Regions from separate parts of the Homo sapiens genome. Here regions 2 and 3 are each linked to region 1. The links are contacts of gene promoters, found by promoter capture Hi-C in blood cells and fetal thymus (Javierre and others, 2016). All regions are on one chromosome and are shown on one strand. The core of a region is centred on a gene start or on the middle of the fragment in contact, and the rest is flanking DNA. Distances in the headings are between cores, read along the strand shown. Region 1 holds the start of LINC03152 (long intergenic non-protein coding RNA 3152). Region 2 overlaps NDUFAF2 (NADH:ubiquinone oxidoreductase complex assembly factor 2). Region 3 overlaps NDUFAF2 (NADH:ubiquinone oxidoreductase complex assembly factor 2).

What was found. Contacts are between HindIII fragments. The CHiCAGO score rates a contact against its expected background, and 5 or more counts as called.
Region 2: a contact is called between a fragment that was not itself captured here and the fragment with the promoter of LINC03152 in region 1, in 2 of 17 cell types (monocytes and total B cells). The highest score is 6.5, in monocytes.
Region 3: a contact is called between a fragment that was not itself captured here and the fragment with the promoter of LINC03152 in region 1, in 1 of 17 cell types (M1 macrophages). The highest score is 5.1, in M1 macrophages.

Annotation. Positions count from the first base shown.
Region 1 is chr5:61,696,583-61,700,977 of GRCh38, forward strand. LINC03152 (long intergenic non-protein coding RNA 3152) reads right to left here and starts at 1,850. Exons shown (of 8, transcript NR_109910.1): 1 at 1,330-1,850; 2 at 828-1,057. The region is part of intron 1 of LINC03122 (long intergenic non-protein coding RNA 3122); the gene reads left to right. The HindIII fragment of the contact is 4,284 bases long and covers 1-4,009 here.
Region 2 is chr5:61,022,733-61,027,127 of GRCh38, forward strand. The region is part of intron 1 of NDUFAF2 (NADH:ubiquinone oxidoreductase complex assembly factor 2); the gene reads left to right. Among named protein-coding and RNA genes, the nearest start is that of NDUFAF2, 80 kb to the left of the region's middle. The HindIII fragment of the contact is 740 bases long and covers 2,294-3,033 here.
Region 3 is chr5:61,087,782-61,092,176 of GRCh38, forward strand. The region is part of intron 2 of NDUFAF2 (NADH:ubiquinone oxidoreductase complex assembly factor 2); the gene reads left to right. Among named protein-coding and RNA genes, the nearest start is that of SMIM15-AS1, 72 kb to the right of the region's middle. The HindIII fragment of the contact is 194 bases long and covers 1,855-2,048 here.

The DNA of each region.
Region 1 (4,395 bases), core at 600-3,099:
GTGAAACCCCGTCTCTACTAAAAATACAAAAAATTAGCTGGGCGCAGTGGCAGGCGCCTGTAGTCCCAGCTACTCGGGAGGCTGAGGCAGGAGAATGGCGTGAACCCGGGAGGCGGAGCTTGCAGTGAGCCAAGATATTGCCACTACAGTCCGGCCTGGGCGAAAGAGCGAGACTCCATCTCAAAAAAAAAAAAAAAAAAAGAATCCAGTCTCAAAAGATTATATACTATATGATTCAATTTCTATGGCAGCCTCAAAAAGACACGATGAATGGAGAACAGATCAAAGGGATACCATGGGCCAGGTGCAGTGGCTCCCGCCTGTAATGCCAGCAGTTTGGGAGGCTGAGGAAGGCAGATCACTTGAGATGAGGAGTTCAAGACCAGCCTGGCCAACACTGGAGACACCTCATCTCTACTAAAAACACAAAAACTAGCCAGGTGTGGGGGCACATGCCTGAAGTCCCAGCTACTCAGGAGGCTGAGGCAGAAGAATTGCTTGAATGTGGGAGGCAGAGGTTGCAGTGAGCTGAGATCACGCCACTGCACTCCAGCCTGGGTGACAGAGTGAGACTCCATCTCAAAAACAAACAAACAAACAAACAAACAAACAAACAAACACACGGGATGCCATGAGGGAGTTTTTTAGGGCAATGGAATTGTTCTGTATCCTGATTGTGGTAGTGGTTTTATATGTATATTATACAATGACTGAAATTCATAGACCTGTAAATATATACAGACACAAAGTCAGTTTTACTCTATAATGATCACAAAAGTAATCTAGGGAGCATAGCTGTGAAGTGTTCCCTAATAGGTCCTCCCAACCTCCTTCTCCTTAGGGGGTCCAAGGCCTTTCCTTCCTCTCCTTGCTTCTGGATTCTGTCTCATAGTGCTCTTCTGTTTCCCTCCCAGTCTTGGCACTACCAGGCTGTAGCGCTTCATCCAGGTCTTGTCTGGGGCCGTGGCTCTGTGACTTTGTTCCACACTCTTCTTAGTCAAGAACAGCCACCAAAATCTACTGGGTTTTCAGCCAGTTCCCTCGAAAAACAAGCAAGCTACAACAAAAACAGAAGTCATCTTTGATTTCTCTTTCTTCTACCTCCATATCCTATTTATTAGTGAGTATTGCCAGTTCTGCTTTCAAAATAGGTCCTGAACCTAATCCCTGCAGCCACCTCTGTCTAGGCCATTGCCATCTTAGGCCTTAGCTACTGCAACAGGGTTCTATCTCGTCTCCCTGCTTCCACTTCTTCCCTGCTATTGTCTATTCCCAATGCAGCAATCAGAGTAATCCCACGAAAACACATACCATGTCATTTCTACTTACAGTCCTCGAAAATCTTCCCAGTGTATTTAGAATAAAAGCCAAGTACCGTCCCACGGCCTCCACAGGGCTGGCCTCCTCCCCCTGCTTCCTCTGGTATTGTGCCCTGGCCACGCTGACCTTCTTGCTCTTTCCAGGATATGTGATGCTTATTCCCACTTCAGTGCTATTTTTTCTGCCTGGAACTGGCTTATCCCAGAAATCTGCATGGTCGCTACTTCAGATATTTCAAGACTCAGCCCTAAAGTCACTTCCTCAGAGAGAGCTCCTCTGCCCGTTTGTTTCAAATAGCTTCCCCAGGCTTCCAGTCTCTCTCTAGCCCCTTAATCTGATTTATCTTCTCTCAGCACTTAACCACCTCGTGCAAGGATGCTGGCTTCCCATGGCAACATAGAATCCACACTCATTACATCCTAGAATGTGCTATGCGACCTGGTTCGCGCCTCCCCTCTGACATAACCCTCTGCTCCTGAGGGGCAATTCCCTTTGCCGTGCCACTCCCTGTGCACCCCTCTAGACACACTGACTTCCTTGTGTTCCCGGAACAAAGCAAGCATGCTTCCACCTCGGAATCTTTGCATTTGTGATTCCATCTCCCTGGAATGCTGTTCCTCCATAGAGCTTCCTAGCACATTCTCTGCTCAAATGACACTTAATCAGAGACTTTCTTGACCATCGTATATAAAATAGCAAGCCCTTCATCATTCTGTACTCCTCTTATCTGTCTTATTTTTCATGGCATTTATAACTACCTGGTGTGTGTATAGCTATTCATCTGTTATGTGTTCTTAGCTCCCTGTACTAGGCTGTCAGCCTGCAGGGAGCCACGACTTTGTTTTGTCCACTATTGTCTTTCTCTGTGAGTCTCAGCCTCATTCATACCAATGTTGCTTTGAGGATGGCTGGGTGCAGGGAGGCACTGGAGTACCAAGAGCCCTGGAGAGACCCCTGGCCATGCGGCTGTTGTTCCTTGTCTGTCTCTCTCACCCGCATGTAAGCTCGATATTGGCGGTGACCGAGAGGCAGGGCCCAGTGCATAGTGGGTGCTCAAGAATAGTTGTAGAATGAATGAATAAATGATAGAGGCCTTTGGATATTTAAAAAGGATGTTTTGGCTTTTAAAAGGAACTTTCCATGTTTTAAAACCTAAATGCAGAATAATGGTATGAATTGGCCAGTGAGGAATTATCTTATGTGAAGTTTACTGCTAACATTTAAACATTTTCCCCTGCCTAGTAAAGACTTTTTGATGTCTTCCCATTGTTCTTAGGGTCATAATGCACTTTAAGATGGCTCCTGCCCCTTTGTCAGCCCACTTTCCCTTGCTCTGGGTCTCAGTCACACAACTCTCCTTTCAATTTCTCCTACTCGTGTTCCCTCCCAGTCCAGGGCCTCTGCCTGCAAGACTTCCTCTGTCTGGATGCTCTGGTCCCCACCCTCCCCAGAGTTAACTCCTCCTCACCCTCCCCATCTCCGCTAAAGCCTCAGATCTTCAAGGGAAGCCCTCCCTGACACTCAGGCAAGGTTAATGTGCCCTCAAATCACCAGGCACCTCTGATGTACACCCCAGATCCCAGGTGTGGCCTAACATGTGTTTGTGTGATTATATAGTTAACGCTCCCATGAGGGGGAACTGGGTCTGCCTTTACTTCACCATTAACTTCTCTGTAAACTAGCACTTCTGCAAACAGAATAGGCTTTAAAACAATATTTGTAAGGCCAGGTGCGGTGGCTCACGCCTGTAATCCCAGCAGTTTGGGAGGCCGAGGTGGGCAGATCACGAGGTCAGGAGATCGAGACCATCCTGGCTAACACGGTGAAACCCCGTCTCTACTAAAAATATAAAAAGTTAGCTGGGCGTGGTGGCGGGCGCCTCTAGTCCCAGCTACTCGGGAGGCTGAGGCAGGAGAATGGTGTGAACCTGGGAGGCAGAGTTTGCAGTGAGCCGAGATCACGCCACTGCATTCCAGCCTGGGCAACAGAGCAAGACTCCATCTCAAAAAAAAAAAAAAATTTGTAAAATGAAAACATTACTTAATTAATGATATAAAAGCGACTTTTTTATATAGCCTCAAGTTTAGTGTAAGGCAGTGAAGGTAATTGTTAAAACAAAAGTCAAGGAAACCCGTTAAGCTCTTAACCCCCTGGTACTGTTAAAAGATGAGAGATGCTGTAGTGTAGACAAGTTAGGACACCAGGCAGGTGAGTTTCCAGGGGCAGAGAGAGGAGATGAGCTTCACAGCTGCTGAGACCTGTCCCTCTGACTTGGGCAGGCATCATCGTTATTTGAAAGTACAACAGGGCCAAACCTTCAATCCAGTAACACAGCTGGTGCTCAGATTTTTTTTTTTAAACAACATCATGTGGAATTTTCTTTATGTCTTTCTACTAAAACTCAAAGGATGGGAATAAGAATAGAAGAGATCATTGAAATCAGCTCAACATAAGGTAACCTTTGAGCAGTCAGCTGTGTCCCACTGTGAACTGCCTGGCCACGAGTGTGCGTGGGGGAGAAGGGGGTGCAGAGGTCAAGGTGTCTCTCCTTGTCGGGGATGGTGTGGAGGTGATGGTGTCAGGGATGGTGTTCTCAGGTCAAGAGGAGCAGGATCTGTCTGGTGACTTTTAACATGCCTTTCCACCTGGAAACCCCTCAGAGTTTATGTTCATCCTTTGTGTTAGTCAAAGCTTAAATCCCCTTCCTTACCTAACCTTTGCTAGAAAGATGAAATCAGTATTTGCCTGGCCTGCTGCTCATTGGAATCACATGGGGAGGGAGCCTAGCACCCACTTGAGACTAGTTAAATTAGAATATGTGGTGTGGGGCCCAGATATAGGTATTTTTAAAAAGCTCTTAAGTAATTCTAAAGTGCAGCCAGAGTTGACAGCCACTGTAAAACAGGTAGTGCTGTGGACAGGTTTCCTTTTTCCTTCTCCTCTGATGCTCACTCGGTTCTCAGGCTGAATCAAGCTTGGCCAAGCCATGGCCCACAGCCCGCAGGCAGCCCAGGACAGCTTTGAATGCGGCCCAACACAAATTCATAAACTTTCTTAAAACATAATGAGATTTTT
Region 2 (4,395 bases), core at 1,414-3,913, 670 kb before region 1:
CTCCCAGGTTCAAGCGATTCTCCTGCCTCAGCCTCCCAAGCAGCTGGGATTACAGGCGCATGCCACCACACCCAGCTAATTTTTGTATTTTTAGTAGAGACGGAGTTTTGCCATGTTGGCCAGGCTGGTCTTGAACTCCTCACCTCAGGTGATCTGCCTGCCTCAGCTTCCCTAAGTGCTAGGATTACCGGCGTGAACCACCATGCCCGGCCTGCCTTTAGTGTGTTACATTTTCACTGTACTTTATTTAGGTATGAGTTTCTTTTCTTTTAATTTATTTATTCTGATTTTTGTTTTTCCTAGACCCGGGAAGGGATTCATGTGGCTCATCAGTTTTGGAAAATGTCAGCCACTGTCTTTTCAAATAGGTGTTCCCCCCTTCTTCTGTCATTTCCTTCTAGAATGCCTAGTAAAGATACAGATTGTATTCTGTCCTCCATATCAGCTATTCTAATCTGTCATTCCTTGAGGTTTTCTTTTTCTTAAGTGATTTTTTTTTATTGAATTTCTCTTTGGTTCTTTTAAAAATATTTTAGTTCTTTTTTTTGCATAACCAGTGTTGTCATTGTGGCTTTTCTGTCTTTGAAAAATCATTCTAAACATTTTTACTGGTTTAGTCATTTTCAGATTCTATTTATAGTTTTAGATTATTTTATTTGTAGTATTTGAAGGGTAATTTGCCTATTTATTACATCAGCTAAAGCTTTCTCCTCGTGATGGTTTCTTCAATTTATAATTTTTTATTATGAGCTCATCTTTACTAGGGACTATGTATTCTATGGAAGTCCAGTATAGTATGTGAGTATCTTTGTGGGACTATTTACATCTACATCTTTTGGTCCTTAAAAATTTCAAGGGTCCAGTCAGATTTTATGTTACTTTTAAATTTTACACCACGGAATTATGTAAATTTAAAACCCTCACATATATAGGATACTCTTGTAGAGTTTTTTATGTTTTAGTGGTGACTGTTTTCCCTCTCTCATTGAAGGCTTCAAATTAATGACTGGCTTCTTTCCTCTTAGAGTTCATGGGCCACGTTTTTCTAGTTAATTTTTCTTGAGTAGCACACCTCTTTGATTCTGTGAGCTTTAGGTGGATGCTCAGTTCTTGATCCCCCACCTCACATCAGCTATGGGTATGTTTTCACTCCTGCAAGTGATTTAAAGGTGTATGTCCAAGCACTTAGCCCTTAAAGCCTAGAGCTGAGTTTGAAACCCCGGGGATTGCTACAGTGTCTGTTTAAGCTTATGGCTCTGGCTTTGACTTCTATTTGTTTCCAGCACTTGAGGAATTTTTGTTTCTTATTTTTAGCAAAGTATTATTTTGAAAGTATTTTATCCAGTATTTCTCTGTGTTTGGAGCAGGAAGGAAGCCCTTACATATTGGCTTGGACTATACCATGTTATAAGAATTTTCTGTTTTTTTTAACATTGATGTAATTTGATTGACTCTTAATTTCTTTCTATTTTAAGGATATTGGTTGATTCTCTAATAGCTTTTTAAAAATTCTGTTTTGGGATTGTTTTAACTTTTCTTTTCCCTCCAGTGCGTTTTTCAAACATTTTTTGTTTTGTGTGTATCTGGTACCTAATAAATATTCAGTAAATGTTTTCTAAGTGAAAATAAGTCAAATGTTTAGTTTGTGCCAAAGGACGTTCTAGGTGATTTTAATAAGTTTATTTGTTTTAGGCCTCATATATGTTAAGTTAGACTGATAGACCCTACCAAGTTATAAAATGATAATAATAATAGTAATAATAATAGCTTCAAATAATTATAAGACACGTCATTTTCATTCTAACCCTGCAATATGTAGTATTATTATCACTGTTTTACTGTTGAGATAATTGAGAAATAGAGAAAGTAACTTATCCCAAATCACATAGTTAGCACATGGCAGAGCTCTATTTAAAGTAAGTCTGGCTCCAGAGGCTTGTATTCTTAATCATTATACTGTAGCTTTTATATCCTGTTGAGAGATATCCTTGATTATTATTATACCTCTGCTTAAAATATTTTCCCACTGCTTTCTGGATAATGTTTAAATAAACATTTTATTATTTAAAAAATAAATGTTTAAATAAGTATTTAATATTCTAGCCTACCTTATTCTATCATACTACATATCAGCCTTGTTCTCTGTTTCCAATTGCTAACAGTTTTCCAAAGGCCCTCTATTTCATGCTTCCATGTGTTTAATTGTATTCTCCCCTCTGCCTAGAATGTCTCTCCTTCTGCTTCTCTCCTGGCTAACTCCTATACGTCCTTAGAAACTACAGCTCTTTTTGAAAGCTTCTATAACTGCTTATTGATATAGCTGTCCCTCTCTTCAGCGTTCCCCTAAATTTGTCCTCCCATAATGTGTCAGCTTATAGCATTTATTTTACTATGTTTTAATATTTTTTTTTCTTTTTGCCTCTCAACTAAACTGCCTTCTCTGAGGTAAAGGACTGTATTCTGCACATCTCCATAACCCCATGACCTCATAAACATAACTGGCACATAGGAGATGTTCAATATATATTTATTGAATGAATCGATAATTGTGATTTCATTACTTGTTTTACAGATCATCCGTAAGATTTGTCTACTGCATTGTCTTGTTGAATTTTTAAATAGGACTATGAATTATTTTGTTAGTAATATTAATAAAAGATGTTTATAAAAACAAGTTAGTATCTTGGAATACAAGTTACTTAATGAATTTCTTAAGATATCTTTTTTAAACATATAACATTTTTGCTTATTTAGTTGTGAAAGAATATGGTTTCTATAATAGTGTGTTATTTAAAAGCAGTTCTATTTAGCTATTTAGTTGAAAATGATTCTTTGGTGAAAAATTAACTCTGTAAATATGTATTAAGAGGAATGCCTGCTCTGTTTTGATTCTATGTTTTAATATTTTTACTCTTGGCAATATTTAATGAAAATGTGTCTCATTAACCTTGAAGTTACTAGTCATTATTTTGTGACTGCTTTTGATTTATTTACTGTCTTGACTTCATATATAGAAAACACTAATTTTATCAAAGCTTATTGCATTGTTTACCACTAATTACAAAATAAATAAGTAAGTAAATAAAGATCACATAGAAAAAATAAGTCTCTTGGGGTGAAAATTTATTTGTAAAACATATATTAATGGTTTTTATATGCTCATTTTCTTATAATAATATAGAAAATTTAATTGTTCACTTGGGGGCAGATGTTTTATATCATGGCTTTTTAAAAAAGTTAACTCTTTAAATGGAATGAAGGAATAGGAGAAAATTACTTGTTTGAGCCTTATGGGAAATATATCTGAGATAGCACTATTTTGCTGCAACTGAAATTCAAACATGAGGAAATTGCAGAAATTTACAATTCAATATGTGTTTCATCAGGGAGAAATCCACAGATTGTTTTGACACTCAGTTAGAAATTCAGCATGAAGATGGACGTCTCATGAAATTTGCAGCTGCTGATTGAATTTATATTTCCATAAAGGCCATCAACAGTAGCAGCCTGCAGGGGAGGAGGGGGGAGAAATGACAAAAATCGTGAGGCTAGCATTTTTCCTCAGCATTATAGTCACAAATTACTGGTAATAAGGGTTTACACTGACCAGGATTAAAGAAAAATATAGACAGCCAGAGGGAAGGACTTCTCAGTTTAATTGATTTTAACTAAATATGTCCACATTTGATATCTAAATATGTGTTTAGTCATTTGTAGAAAATCTAATATGTGTGTAAAAATCAGTTTATCTTTACTATTTAAACAGAAAGAATAAGATAGCTCTTGAAGTTAAAAAAGGTTGTATAGTACAGGTTTTCATAAGAGCCTTTCAAGATAGAAGATGAGTATTGTAGGAATATAATACGAGCTTGTTTTCTATGTCACTGAAATAATTATTTCATGTTCTTGCAAGTAACCTACAGTTGATGTTTTTGAGAATAACAATTATTATTTTAAAATGTGTTTTAAAAATTTTTTGAATGGATATCCAAATAATAGTGACAGAGAACAAGTTACCTTTTCAAGGAAATTATTTCATTTTCAAGTGTGGTGGGTTTTTTATTTTTAGCAAAATGTACAAAAAGTTCTTTCTTTTGTTTAATGCATATCTTGTGGAGATTTCATATTATACATGATTTTAAAATATTCATGGATTGTAGGTGAACTGAAGGACTTAGGAGTGTGTTCATTGTTCCTGCAGAGTTCTTTGTCTCTGTGGGCAGTGTGTACTTTTAACCATAACAGGATGCCCTCAGATAGCTTTATTTGAAAATTAGAATTTTCACAACTATATGTAAAAATATTATCCTTATTAAGAAAAATTATATTTAATTTAATATTAGTTTATAAAAAGTGAGAACATTACCCAGAAAACATGTAAATTAAATTAAGTGT
Region 3 (4,395 bases), core at 702-3,201, 610 kb before region 1:
CAAATTGTCATACTTCCATGCAAAGGAATACTACACATCAATAAAAAATAATGAACTGCTGATATGCTCATTATGTTTGTTTTTATTGCTGTATGTCAACATTACCACAATAATAATAGCTTAAAATAAGACACATTTATTATCTTACAGTTTCTGTGCATCAGGAGCCCAAGCACAGCCTAGCTAGGTTCTTTAGTTAAGGGTTTCACTAAGCTGTAATCAACCCAAGGCTGGGTTCTCATCTAGAGACTTGATTAGGAAAAGCTCTACCATCCCACTTGTGTGGTTGTTGGCAGCATTCAGTTCATTGCTGTTGTAAGACTGAGAGCTTCACTTTTTCACTGGTTGTTGGCCAAAGACCACACTGAGTCCTAGAGGTCACTGGCAATTTCTTGCCAATGGTGTTTCCCAATATGGCCACATTTTCCTTACAGCCAGCCAGGGGGAAAAATACTCCAGCCAAGATGAGCACCATAATCTTATATAACGTAATCACATGAGCACATATATCCCATCACCTTTGCCGTGTTCTTATAATTAGAATTCATGGGTCCTACCCTCATTCAAGGAGAAGAGATAATACAAATGTATGAGTACCAGGAGGTGGTGGTTGTGTAGGCTACCTTAAGAGTATCACTCATTGCCTGGGGACTATGGGTAGGATAAGGTGGGTGTTTCCATGTAAACAGACTGGGGAACTTTTATAGGTGATGGAAATGTTCTGTCTGTTGATTGTGGTGCTAATTACAGGATTGTAAATATTTTTGTTAGAAGTTGTGGAATTGCACACTTGAAATGGCTCACAGTATTTTGTAAATTATACCTCAATAAAGTTAAGAGAAAAGACAGTAATAGCCATGAGCACCACAAAATTTGTAACTTAAAGATGCCAACTTAATAATATCCCTAAGATATCCTTAAAAGTCAATAATTGGAAAATGATTTGTTTCATAATATATCCTTTGAAGGATTTTCACAGTAAAAACTGTGGATCTCTTATTTTTATAGTCCTTTATGAAGTGTCAGCACTCAGAACTAGCAAAGATCATTTTTTTAAAGATGAGGCTTTATTACAGTCTCTTCTGTAAGTGAAGTAAGCACATATTTCTAATGCAATATCTTTTGGATGCAGACTATTGATAACCTTTCCGTAATTTTGGTTCTGAATGGTTACCTACTGGATCTGGTGATAGAGTATTTCATTTACTTTAGCCTCTATTGACAACGCTTCTAAAGGTGTACTTGCCATTTTTAGCACCTGTGGAGATTTGAAGAGTGTATGCTTCATGAAGTATTTTCTTGCTTGATTCTTCTAGTCTCTTTAAGTGATTAAAGGGTGCTTTAATTTGCATACTCACCTTTAATCTTATTATAGTGGCTTATATTCTAATAGGAATATTAAAGTTCAGTGAAAATCTCATACATGCTGATGAGAATGCAAATGAATATTGACGAAAGAATGCTAGGATCATAAGGTGTAAACTGTCCAGTTATCTTGCTAAATTCATTTCAAACAATGTTTACATTATAATGAGGACTGATACAGATTTCACCACATAAATATCACTAGCAGTGGCAAAATTATATAATTTATAATTGGATAATGGTTCAGTTTCAGACTGTTTTGAAGTTAACAAAAACAACAAAGTAATGTCTTGATATTAATGCAAACTTCAGCTGGTCATTTGTTGTATGTAGTAGTTGGGAAATTGGGTATGATTTTACAAATAAGTGGTCACGTTGAGCATTTCCGGCTGTAGCCTTTACAGGATGCATAACAAATAGTAGTGGCATCACTCATCATCCCAACAGGACATTTCAAGTATCTGGTTATTGTACAATTATAAATATACAAGCTTATTTCAGTAGTTATGTTTATGTATCTGTGTAAAACCAAGATTCATTAAATGGTCATTGAAAATGAAGCTAAAAGAAGTCCCCTGACAGTAAATAGACTAGGCAATATTTATTATAATACATTCAGTATTTAAGTTCTATTACATTCTTATATTAATGGATGAATTTTATAAACTTATGCAAAACCAGTAAGCTTTAGAAAACATATAACAGAGTTTCTCCAACCTCTTTAACTACTTTGGAATTTTTTTAATGATTTGTATTCAATTGAAGTATTTTTTTTTTCAGCCTTACAAGAGAACTGAAAATGCTGTTTTATAGACTCATCAGTAGGGCAGATTGTTATTTAGAGTTGTTTTTCTCATGGTGACGATAAGTGTGCATTATGCCATTATACTTTTTCAGCATGGTCTTATGCCCACTGGTGTGTCTTCATAGACTCTAGAATACATGGTAATCATTAGTTAAAAGTATAATAATCAATAATGATTTTTATTTTAAATAATATGAAAGTGTTTTTGCATCAAAATATGTATTTTTCGCTAAAGGGATTATACTTAATTGTAGCCCTGGCACAGGAGTTGGCAAACTTTTTCTTTAAAGGTCCGGATGGTAAATATTTTAGGTTTTTTATGGGCCACTTAGTCAGTTACAATTACTCAACTCTAATGTTGTAGCACAGAAGCAGCCACAAATAATATGTAAACAAATGTTTGTCTGTGTTCCAATCAACCTTATTTCTAGACACTGAAATTTTGAATTCTCTATGATTTTCATGTCATGAAATACTGTTCGTCTTTTGATGTTTTTGCAACCATTAAAAAAATGTAAAAAGTGGTAGGCTAAACTTGGCTTGCAGGCTATACTTTGCTGACACCTGTCCTAGAAGTTGATTTTTCTAAAGCTAGAATTAACTTCTACTCTACATTAAAACTGAAGATATATTGCTGAAACCTTTTATAGATATATAGTTCATGTTGAGTTATTTTAAAAGGAAGCTGTTTTCTAGAAAAAAAATCATAATTATACATAAGTAACTTTATTTTTAAAAAAACTTTTATTTTAAGTTCAGGGGTACATATGCAGGTTTGTTACATAAGTAAATGTGTGTCTGGAGATTTTGATGTGCAGATTATTTAATCACCCAAGTATTCAGCCTAGTACCCCATTAGTTATTTTTCCTGATCCTCTCCCTCCTCCCATCCTCCACCCTCCAATAGGCTTCAGTGTGTGTTGTTCCTCTCTAGGTGTCCATGTGTTCTCATAATTTAGCTCCCACTTATAAGTGAGAACATGCATTATTTGGTTTTCTGTTCCTGTGTTAGTTTGCTAAGGATAATGGCTTCTGGCTCCATCCATGTCCCTACAAAGGCATGATCTTGTTCTTTTTTATGGCTGCATGTATTCCATGGTGTATATTTACCACATTTTCTTTATCCAGTGTATCGCTGATGAACATTCAGGTTGATTCCATGTCTTTGCTATTGTGAATAGTGCTGCAATAAACATACACATGCATGTGTGTTTATAATAGAATGATTTATATTCCTCTAGGTTTATACCCAGTAATGGGATTGCTAGGTCAAATGGTATTTCTGTCTTTAGGTCTTTGAGGAATCTCACACTGTCTTCTACAATGGTTGAACCAATTTACACTCCCACCAACAATGTATAGCATTCCTTTTTCTCTGCAACCTTGCTAGTGTCTGTTATTTTTTGACTTTTTAATAATAGCCATTCTGACTGGTGTGAGATGGTGTGATTTGCATTTCTTTAACAATCAGTAATGAGCTTTTTATTTTATGATTGTTGACCACATGTATGTCTTCTTTTGAGAAGCGTCTGTTCATGTCTTTGGCCTACTTTTTAATGGGGTTGTTTATTTTATTTTCTTGTAAATTTGTTTAAGTTTCTTACAGATGCTGAATATTAGACCTTTGTCAGATGCATAGTTGGTAAAAATTGTCTTCCAGTCTGTAGGTTGTCTGTTGACTTTGTTGATAGTTTCTTTTGCTGTGCAAAAGTTCTTCAGTTTAATTATATTCCATTTGTCCATTTTTGCTTTTGTTGCAATTGCAACAAAATTGCAAATTTTGTTTTGAGAATTGGTGTCTTCTCATGAAATTTTTGCCCATTTCTATATGCTCAGTGGTATTGCCTAAGTTGTCTTCCGAGGTTTTGTAGTTTTGGGTTTTACATTTAAGTCTTTAATCCATCTTGAGTTAATTTTTGTGTGTGTATAAGGAAGTGGTCCAGTTCCAATTTTCTGCATATGGCTAGCCAGTTATCCCAGCACCATTTATTGCATAAGAAATTCTTTCCCCATTGCTTGTTTGTGTCAGGTTTGTTGATCAGATAGCTGTAGGTGTGCAGTCCTATTTCTGGACTCTCTATTCTGTTTCATTGGTCTATGTGTCTGTTTTTGTATCAGTACCATGCTGTTTTGGTTACCATAGCTCTGTAGTATAGTTTGAAGTTGGGTAGTGTGATGCCTCCAGCTTTGTTTTGTTTGTTTGTTTTTTGTTTTGTTTGTTTTGT